Regions from separate parts of the Homo sapiens genome. Here region 1 is linked to region 2. The links are contacts of gene promoters, found by promoter capture Hi-C in human tissues and cell types (Jung and others, 2019). All regions are on one chromosome and are shown on one strand. The core of a region is centred on a gene start or on the middle of the fragment in contact, and the rest is flanking DNA. Distances in the headings are between cores, read along the strand shown.

Region 1 (4,688 bases), core at 761-3,260, 570 kb after region 2:
GCGATGCTCTCTGCGTACTTTTCTCGGTGCCCCTAGATCTTGAGGTTTTCCAGCCTGGTGTCTGGGAGCCAGCCCTACTCCCTGCCCTGTGTGAGCACTGGTGGTTCTTGCCCCAGTGTCATATAGTCTCCTCCCTGAGATGCTGATCAGACATTCTCTGTGTAGCTCCTTCCTCTCTGGACTTTTGTGCCACTGTCTTAGTTCGTTTGTGTTGCTCTAAAGGAAAAAGCTGAGTCTGGGTAATTTTTTTCTTTTTTTTTGAGATAGGGTCTCACTCTGTTGCCCAGGCTGGAGTGCAGTGGCACAATCCTGTCTCACTGCAGCCTCTAACTCCTGGCCTCAAGTGATCCTCCCACCTCAGCCTCCCTAGTAGCTGGGACTACAAGTGCACATCACCATGCCCAGCTAATTTTTAAAAATAATTTGTAGCGACAAAGCCTTGCTGTGTTGCACAAGCTGGTTTCAAAGTCCTGGCCTGAAGTGACCCTCCTTTCTTGGCCTCCGAAAGTGCTGGGATTACAGATAATAAGCCATGGTGCCCAGCCAAGGCTGGGTAATTTTTTTTTTTTTTTTTTTTTTGAGACAGAGTCTTGCTCTGTCGCTTAGGCTGGAGTGCAATGGTGCGACCTTGGCTCACTGCAACCTCCACCTCCCAGGTTCAAGTGATTCTCCTGCCTCAGCCTCCTGAGTAGCTGGGATTACAGGCACCTGCCACCACACCCTGCTAATTTTTGTATTTTTGTATTTTTTTATTATTATTCTTTAAGTTCTAGGGTACATGTGCAGAACGTGCAGGTTTGTTACATAGGTATACATACATGTGCCATGTTGGTTTGCTGCACCCATCAACTCATCATTTACATTGGGTATTTCTCCTAACGCTATCCTTCCCCCAGCCCAATTTTTGTATTTTTAGTAGAGATGGGGTTTCACCAGGTTGGCTGGGCTGGTCTCAAACTCCTGACCTCAAGTGATCCACAAGGCTGGGTAATTTATAAAGAAAAGAGGTTTATTTGGCTTAGAGTTCTACAGGGGACCTGAAGCACAGTGTCAGCATCTGCTTCTGATGCAGGCCTCAGGAAGCTTCTACTGATGGTGGAAGGGGAAGGGGAGGTGGTATGTGCAGATCACACACGGAGGGAGGAAGCCAGAGAGAGGGAGGAGGCGCCACGCTCTTTTAAACAACCAGTTCTCAAAGGAACTAATAGAGCTAGAACTCATCACTGTGAGGACAACACCAAGCCGTTCATGAAGGATCTGCCATTAGGTAGATCTGTCTCCCATTAGACCCCACCTCCAACACTGGGGATCAGTTTTTTGGTTTGTTTGTTTTTTTTTTTTTTTTTTGAGACAGAGTTTCACTCTTGTTGCCCAGGCTGGAGTGCAATGGCACGATCTCGGCTCACCACAAGCTCCGCCTCCAAGGTTCAAGCAATTCTCCTGCCTCAGCCTCCTGAGTAGCTGGGATTACAGGCGCCTGCCACCATGCCCAGCTAATTTTTTGTGTTTTTAGTAGAGACGGGGTTTCACCATGTTGGTCAGGCTGGTCTCGAACTCTTGACCTCAGGCAATCCACCCGCCTCAGCCTCCCAAAATGCTGAGATTAGAGGCGTGAGCCACCTCACCCAGCCCGGGGATCAGATTTTAACATGAGGTCTGGGGGACAAACATCCAAACTATGGCAGCCATGAACTCTGGTTGTCTTAGTTTCCCCAAACACTAAGCCCCTCTTCTCAGCTCAGGGAGTCTGCTGAATTCGGCCTGGTCCCCCCACTCCCTGGGCTGGGTCCTGGAGCCTCTCTAATCATGGGCTCACTTTGTTTCCTGTCTGTCATATCCTTTTTTGTAAAACCCATTTGATATGGTTTGGCTGTGTCTCCACCCAAATCTCATCTTGAATTATAGTTCCCCAAATCCCCACATGTCCTGGGAGAGACCCAGTGGGAGGTAATTGAATCATGGGGCATTACCCCCATGCTGCTATTCTCATGATAGTGAGTTCTCATGAGATCTGATAGTGTTTTGTTTTTTTTTTTTTGAGACTGAGTTTCGCTCTTGTTACCCAGGCTGGAGTGCAATGGTGCGATCTCGGCTCACTGCAACCTCCACCTCCCAGGTTCAAGCAATTCTCCTGCCTCAGCCTCCTGAGTAGCTGGAATTACAGCCGCTTGCCACCACGCCCAGCTAATTTTTGTATTTTTAGTAGAGATGGGGTTTCACCATGTTGGCCAGGCTGGTCTCGAACTCCTGACCTCAGGTGATCCGCCTGCCTCGGCCTTCCGAAGTGCTGACATTACAGGCATGAGCTGCCGCTCCCAGCCAAGATCTGATGGTTTTATAAGGGGCTTTTCCTGCTTTGCTTGGAACTTCTCCTTCCTGCCACCATGTGAAGAAGGACATGTTTGCTTCCCCTTCTGCCATGATTGTAAGTTTCCTGAGGCCTCCCCAGCCATGCTGAACTATGAGTCACATATCTTTCCTTTATAAATTACCCAGTCTCGGGTATGTCCTTGTAGCAGCATGAGAATGGACTAATAAATACACCATTGTTTCTTGAGTTTTATTTATTTATTTATTTTTTGGTTGTTTTATGCAGGAGGGTAAATCTGGTCCTTGTTGCTTGGGCAATTTGGAAGTTTTGTTCTTGTTTTAATTATTGATTTGTAAGAGTTATTTACCCATTCTGGATATGAGTCCTTTGTGCCTACTCATTTCCTTAATGATAGCTTATGGTGAGCAGAATTTTTTTTTTTTCTTTTGAGTGGGTGGAGTCTTACTCTGTTGCCAGGCTGGAGTACAGTGGTGCGATCTCAGCTCACTGCAACCTCCGCCTCCCAGGTTCAAGTGATTCTTCTGCCTCAGCCTCCTGAGTAGCTGGGACTACAAGCATGCACCACCATGCCCAGCTAATTTTTGTATTTTTAGTAGAGATGGGGTTTCACCATGTTGGCCAGGATGGGCTCAATCTCTTGACCTCTTGATCTGCCTGCCTTGGCCTCCCAAAGTGGTAGGATTACAGGCGTGAGCCACTGCGCCCGGCCAGAATATTTCATTTTAACAAAGTACAGTTTATCTTATCTTTTATGAGTTGTTCTTTTTGTGCCTTATCCAAAAAGTCTTTGCCTACCCAGAGGAAAATATATAACAATATTTTCCTCCATTTGCTTCTAGAAGCCTAATTTTTGTTTTTATGTTTGGTCTATGATTTATCTCAAGGTTTTGTACATGGTGTGAGGTAGGGGTTGAGATTTACTGCCTCCAACCCCCAAATCTCTCTAGTTGTTCCAGCATCATTTATTAAATGGATTATCTTTTGCCTAGTTCATTACTATGGCAACTTGGTTGTACATCAGTTGAACATATATGTGTGGGTCTATTCCTGACTCTGTTGTATCCCATTGATCTATGTATCTGTCTTGATGCCAACACCATGCAGTCTATGAGTGCTGCTGCTTTTTAGTAAGTCTTGAAATCAGGCTGAGCACTGTGGCTCACACCTGTAATCCCAGCACTTTGGGAGACCGAGGTGGGCAGATCACCTGAGGTTGGGAGTTCAAGACCAGCCTGACCAACATGGAGAAACCCCGTCTCTACTAAAAATACAAAATTAGCTGGGTGTGGTGGTCCATGCCTGTAATCCCAGCTACTCGGGAGGCTGAGGCAGGAGAATCACTTGAACCCGGGAGGCGGAGGTTGCGGTGAGCTGAGATCACGCCATTGCACTCCAGCCTGGGTAACAAGAGCGAAACTCTGTCTCAAAAAAAAAAAAAAAAAGAAAAAAGAAATCAGGCAATGTGGGTCTGCCTTCTTTTTCGGGACTATTTTGGCCATCCCAGTTCCTTTGCATATGCATAGATATTTCAGCCAGTCTGTTAATTGCTATAAAACGAAAAGCCCCCTGGGATTTTGACTGGGCAGGTTTTGAATCTATGGGTCATGTGGGGAGAAGTGTCACCTTAACAATACTGAGTTGTCTAAGAAGTACCCAGTGAAACAAATAATAACAAGAAGAAACACTGTTGAGGCTGGGCACGGTGGCTCACGCCTGTAATTCCAGCACTTTGGAAGGCCGAGGCGGGCCGATCATGAGATCAGGAGACCGAGACCATCTTGGCTAACACGGTGAAACCCTGTCTCTACTAAAAAAATATGAAAAAATTAGCTAGGTGTGGTGGTGGGCACCTGTAGTCCCAGCTACTTGGGAGGCTGAGGCAGGAGAATGGCCTGAACCCGGGAGGCGGAGCTTGCAGTGAACTGAGATCACACCACTGCACTCCAGCCTAGGCGACAGAGCAAGACTCTAAAAAACAAAAACAAACAAAAAAACACTATTGAATCTTTCAGTGAATATGCATGTCTCTCCTTAAATCAGGTCAGCTCAACTTGAGACCCTCAACAGTGCCCTGGAGTTTTCAGTCTTTGTCACTCATTTTTCATTAAATATTTTCCTGGTGGTTTTTTTTTTTTTTTTTTTTTTTGAGACGGAGTCTTGGTCTGTTGCCCAGGCTAGAGTGCAATGGCGCCATCTCTGCTCATTGCAACCTCCACCTCCCGGGTTCCAGCAATTCTCCTGTCTCAGCCTCCCGAGTAGCTGGAACTACAGGTGCCTGCCACCATGCCCAGCTAATTTTTGTATTTTTAGTAGAGATGGGGTTTCATCATATTGGCCAGGCTGGTCTCGAACTCCT
Region 2 (4,741 bases), core at 2,180-4,679:
TAGATCTTAAACTGTAGACTAAGATGAGGCTTAGCAAACATGTATCAATTTGAAGGTTTTCTCAAAGTACAGTATTCCTCCCACCCCCCACCCCCATATCCACAGGGGATACATTCCAACATCCCCAGTGGACGCCTGAAACCACAGATAATACTGAAATCTATACATACTATGTTTTTTCTTATACATATCTACAATTTTCTTATACATATCTACAATAAAGTTTAATTTATAGGCTGGGTGCGGTGGCTCACGCCTATAATCCCAGCACTTTGGGAGGCAGAGGCAGGTGGATTACCTGAGGTCAGGAGTTTGAGACCAGCCTGGCCAACATAGTGAAACCCTCTCTCTACTAAAAATACAAAAATTAGCCGGGCGTGGTGGTACACGCCTGTAATCCCAGCTACTCAGGAGGCTGAGGCAGAAGAATCGCTTGAACCCAGGAGGTGGAAGTTGCAGTGAGCCGAGATCGTGCCACTGCACTCCAGCCTGGGCAACAGAGCAAGACTCCATCTCAAAAAAAAAAAAAAAAAAAAGTTTAATTTATAAATTAGGCACAGTAAGAGATTAACAATTAATAATAAAACAATTACAACAATATACTGTAATAAAAGTTATGTGAATGTGGTTTCTATTTTAATATTTTTGGACCATGGTTGACCTCGGGTAACTGAAACCACCTAAAATCTCACAGGAGGATATATATTCAAAAGAACTGGAGGCAGAATCAAGAAGAGATTTTTGTACACCCCGTATTCATAGCACAATTATTCATAATAGCTAAAAGGTGGAAGCAACTCAAGTGTCCAATGACAGATGAATGAATAAACAAATTGTGGTATGGTATATACATACAATGAAATATTATTCAGCTTTTAAAAGGAAAGAAATCCTGTCACATGGATGAACCTTGAGGATATCATGCCAAGTGAAGTAAGTCAGTCATAAAAGGACTTATATTTTATGAGTCCGCTTCTAGGAAGTACCTAGAGTAGGCAAATTCATGGAGACAAAGTGGAACAGAGATTGACAGGGGCTGTGAGGAGCAGAAAATGGAGAGCTATTGTTTAATGTGAGTAGAGTTTCACTTTTGCAAGATGAAAAAGTTCTGAAAATCTGTTGCTCGTGAATGTACTCAACACTATTGAACTATAGACTGAAAAACGGTTAAGATGATAAAAATTTGGTTTTTTTAACCACAACTAAAAAAAAATCTGTATTAGAGAAAATTTCTTGACTTGATTCCAAATATATATTTAGTAGAAGGAATGCCACCTACTGACAAAGCAGTTTACTAGCAACTCCAAAATTAGCAAGCTGAATTAGCCATCTCCCAAAATGCAAACATAGCATGTTCCCGCCTAAAATCTGGGATGGTTCTTTACTCCCTGGCACTCTAACACAGTAATTTCCAATCTTTTGTCTTTCTTCTTTTAAGCAGCATAACTGTTCAGCTAAATCTTGGCCAGAACCATAACACAGGAAATAGCGTTTCTGGGTGAACAAGGCCAGAACAGGGTAGGGGCTTGCTTCCCTTGAGTGCTTCTCACTAGCCAACCTATGTAAGCCATTTCTTCTCTTTGAATATAAAAGGTAAATCCGCACAAAGGGGCAACATACTTAACAACCTGCCTGCAGTTTACCCATGAACCCGACCTTCTGCCCCTTCTTTGCTGCTCCCGATCCCATCTCTCACTTTCCTTTTCAATCCCGAGACCTAGCACACTGCCTGGAACATATCAGGTATTCTTGAGTGGATGAACTCAAGAATAGAAATAAGCCAGGGTTTGACAGTGACACACTTGGGATAAAATCTAACAATCATTCCTTGTCTTTACTAAAATAAACAGGTGACAGGAAGACAATACCGTAGAGTGCTTTGCAGCCAGACAGACTTGGCTTCAACTCTCCAGTCCCTACTTCTGTGACTCGAATAAAGTACCTCTGTAAACGTTAGTTTTCTCATGTTTAAAATCATCATCATCCTTGCTTCCAAAGGGATTGTAGGGATTAAAAGAAATAAGCCGCGATGAGGGAGTACAGGTGTTAAAAGCTGTGTAACAGGAAATGTACCAGCAGGTATTAGCTTCCATCGTTATCATTACCGAACACAACACCGCTGTACAGATTCGAAGGCACGAACCCGTAGGCACGGAGCTCACGGAGCTGGGGCAAGAGCTGGGTGTCCCCCAAGAGCGGGGGATGCCCACTACGGATTCTCCCTGGGGAGCGCCCTGATTCTGTTCCCATCCCCAGCAACCTTGCAACTAACTTTGGGTTTATGGAAACCTGTTGCGCGTCCAGCACTTGGGAAACCCGTGAATGGACACAAACCTTCCTTTCTTTCGTCAAGGAGGGCAAGTCCGGCTGAGACAGAATGCGAGCCACGTTCAGGACCGGCGGACGCGACCACAGGCGGTTAGTGGTCAAGGGTCCTGCTTGTGCCCGGTGCGGCCGATGAGCCTGCAGGCCGGACTCAGGCCCGGGTGACTCGGCACCTCCGCCGCCGTCCCGCCCCGCCCTGCCCCGCCGGGCCCTACCTCAGGCCCCGGGCCAAGGCCCAGCCCCCGCCCGCTGCCCGTCAGCGCTTACCATGATGGACACCACCTGGCAGACTCCGCTCCTCTCAGGCAATGCAACGAAGAAACCCCGCCGACCGCTCTCCCAGCCGCCGCTGCCGCTGCCGCCGCGCCAAGCCGGTACGCCCCAGAGGCTCACCGGAAGTGCCGGACCCGAGACCCGGAGGGGGGGTGCCCGGGACAAAGCGTCGGCTGCAAAAGAGAAAAGGCCAGGCGAAGACGCTAGGCTCTAAAACACCCTCAGTAGAAGCATTAAAATGCCCTTTCGTGATTTATTTCCCCTTTTATAGGTATTTTTAAACGTTATTTTAAATTACGTGTTGACAGTATTCCCCTCCAGACGAATTTAGTAGGGCCCATTGTCCTTACGACTACACTACCCACAATGCACTACCCAGACTGCCTCTGCTTCAGCCATCGAGGACTCGGGCGGAACTAAGCTACAAATCCTTCTTCAAACCACACCAAAAACCTATTGCAAACGTAAATGCTGCCCCATTGGGTATGTGACTGAGTTTAATGTATGGTTAGAAGTATACTTTCCCTGAGGGTTCCCAGTGGGAGGCAGTAGGCTTCTCTTCCCAAAGTAAAGATGTCCGCCCAGCGTCGCTTTTCTGGGTAAAAGCGAGTCAGAGTTGAAGGGGGCAACAGTGTTTGCGTTCGGCCTCAGAGGTGACGCTTCTTTGGGGGCGGGCTGGAGTTTTCTGGCCGTGAATGGCAGAGCGCTAATGGCCGCCTCCAATGTGGCCCAATCAGAAAGAAAGGAAGGCTGGGAACTAAGAAGCTATTGGTTGGTGATCCCTGGACCAATCGGAGGAGCCGTGATTTGGCGGGAGTCTTGACCGCCGCCGGGCTCTTGGTACCTCAGCGCGAGCGCCAGGCGTCCGGCCGCCGTGGCTATGTTCGTGTCCGATTTCCGCAAAGAGTTCTACGAGGTGGTCCAGAGCCAGGTGACGCCCAGTCCGGGACCCCCGCCGAGGCCTTGCCGGTGGGGAAGGGATGAGGGGGAGCGACCGTGGGTGACCGGGAGGCAGGGGAGGGCCGGGGTTCGGGTCGCCGTGTTCAGCCGGTCTGCTCTTCCCCGATAGAGGGTCCTTCTCTTCGTGGCCTCGGACGTGGATGCTCTGTGTGCGTGCAAGATCCTTCAGGTGAGTTCTGCGGACCCTAGGAGGGCGGGGCCGGCGCGCGAGGTGAGGGTGCTGCGTGGGGGCGCAGGGCGGGCAGAGTGTCAGGATGGGTGCTGAGGGCTTAGGGTGGGAGAGGGAGCAGGGCAGGAGGTGAACAGCAAGTGAGAGGAGAGAGACTCGGAGGAGAGGTTGCCTCCCTGTCCCAACGGTGTGGGGTGGGATAAAGGATTAAGTAAAAGGTAAAGAGACTAGTTTGTATTTTTGCAATAAGCTATTAATATTAATAGGTGAACACAGCAGTTGCATTTGGGGGAAACTTTGGATCTGTCGTGGCCTCTCAAATGGGGGATTTGAGAGAGAGGAATCTGTGACAACTGTGGGTATAGTCGTGTCACAGGTGTTGCTGGGAATATGGGAGCCCCTAGTCTATTAGGGAAGATCGTTAGTTTGGTTTTGAATAGGGCATAGTATTTACGTTGTTTTGGTCAGGCCCTTGGATCAGGAACTTTTCAGAAGGCCTGGAAGTTAAATCGGCATTTCTCCCCGATGTTTTACTTTGGTAATTTGCAAAATTCACAGAATGGTATGGTAAACGCTCATATCCCTAGCACCTAGCTTTTCCCGTAAGCATTTCACTAGCTTTAATGTTATCCCGTGTCTTTTGTCTCTCAACCCGTCTAATCTTCCTCAGTTTCTTTTCAAGGTAAATTGCTAATGTCCTAAATAAGATAGGCTTTGAAAACACTCTCTCTCCAGGCCTTGTTCCAGTGTGACCACGTGCAATATACGCTGGTTCCAGTTTCTGGGTGGCAAGAACTTGAAACTGCATTTCTTGAGCATAAAGAACAGGTATTGAAGATGCGTTTTAGAATAACGTGGCTTTTTACTCAATTGTAATTTCTTGACACAGCATTCTATTTCCACGATAGATTAAGCGTGTATTTAAGTATCAGCTACATTAGGCAATATGGAAGAGAAAAACATGCTGTATTTACTGGTGACTTACCACGCCCAAGTTGTAGAAGCAAAATTGAC

The links. Contacts are between HindIII fragments. The study calls those that stand out against the background at their distance.
Region 1: a fragment that was not itself captured here is called in contact with the fragment with the promoter of CDC45 in region 2 in 1 of the 25 tissues and cell types used here (lymphoblastoid cells).

What each region holds. Positions count from the first base shown.
Region 1 is chr22:20,045,904-20,050,591 of GRCh38, forward strand. The region is part of intron 3 of TANGO2 (transport and golgi organization 2 homolog); the gene reads left to right. Among named protein-coding and RNA genes, the nearest start is that of MIR185, 15 kb to the left of the region's middle. The HindIII fragment of the contact is 7,778 bases long and covers 1-4,688 here.
Region 2 is chr22:19,476,491-19,481,231 of GRCh38, forward strand. CDC45 (cell division cycle 45) reads left to right here and starts at 3,430. Exons shown (of 19, transcript NM_003504.5): 1 at 3,430-3,529; 2 at 3,668-3,727; 3 at 4,463-4,555. The coding sequence starts at 3,479. UFD1 (ubiquitin recognition factor in ER associated degradation 1) reads right to left here and starts at 2,703. Exons shown (of 12, transcript NM_005659.7): 1 at 2,593-2,703. The coding sequence starts at 2,595. RefSeq lists silencers at 2,470-2,539, 3,330-3,379 and an enhancer at 2,940-3,239. The HindIII fragment of the contact is 17,956 bases long and covers 1-4,741 here.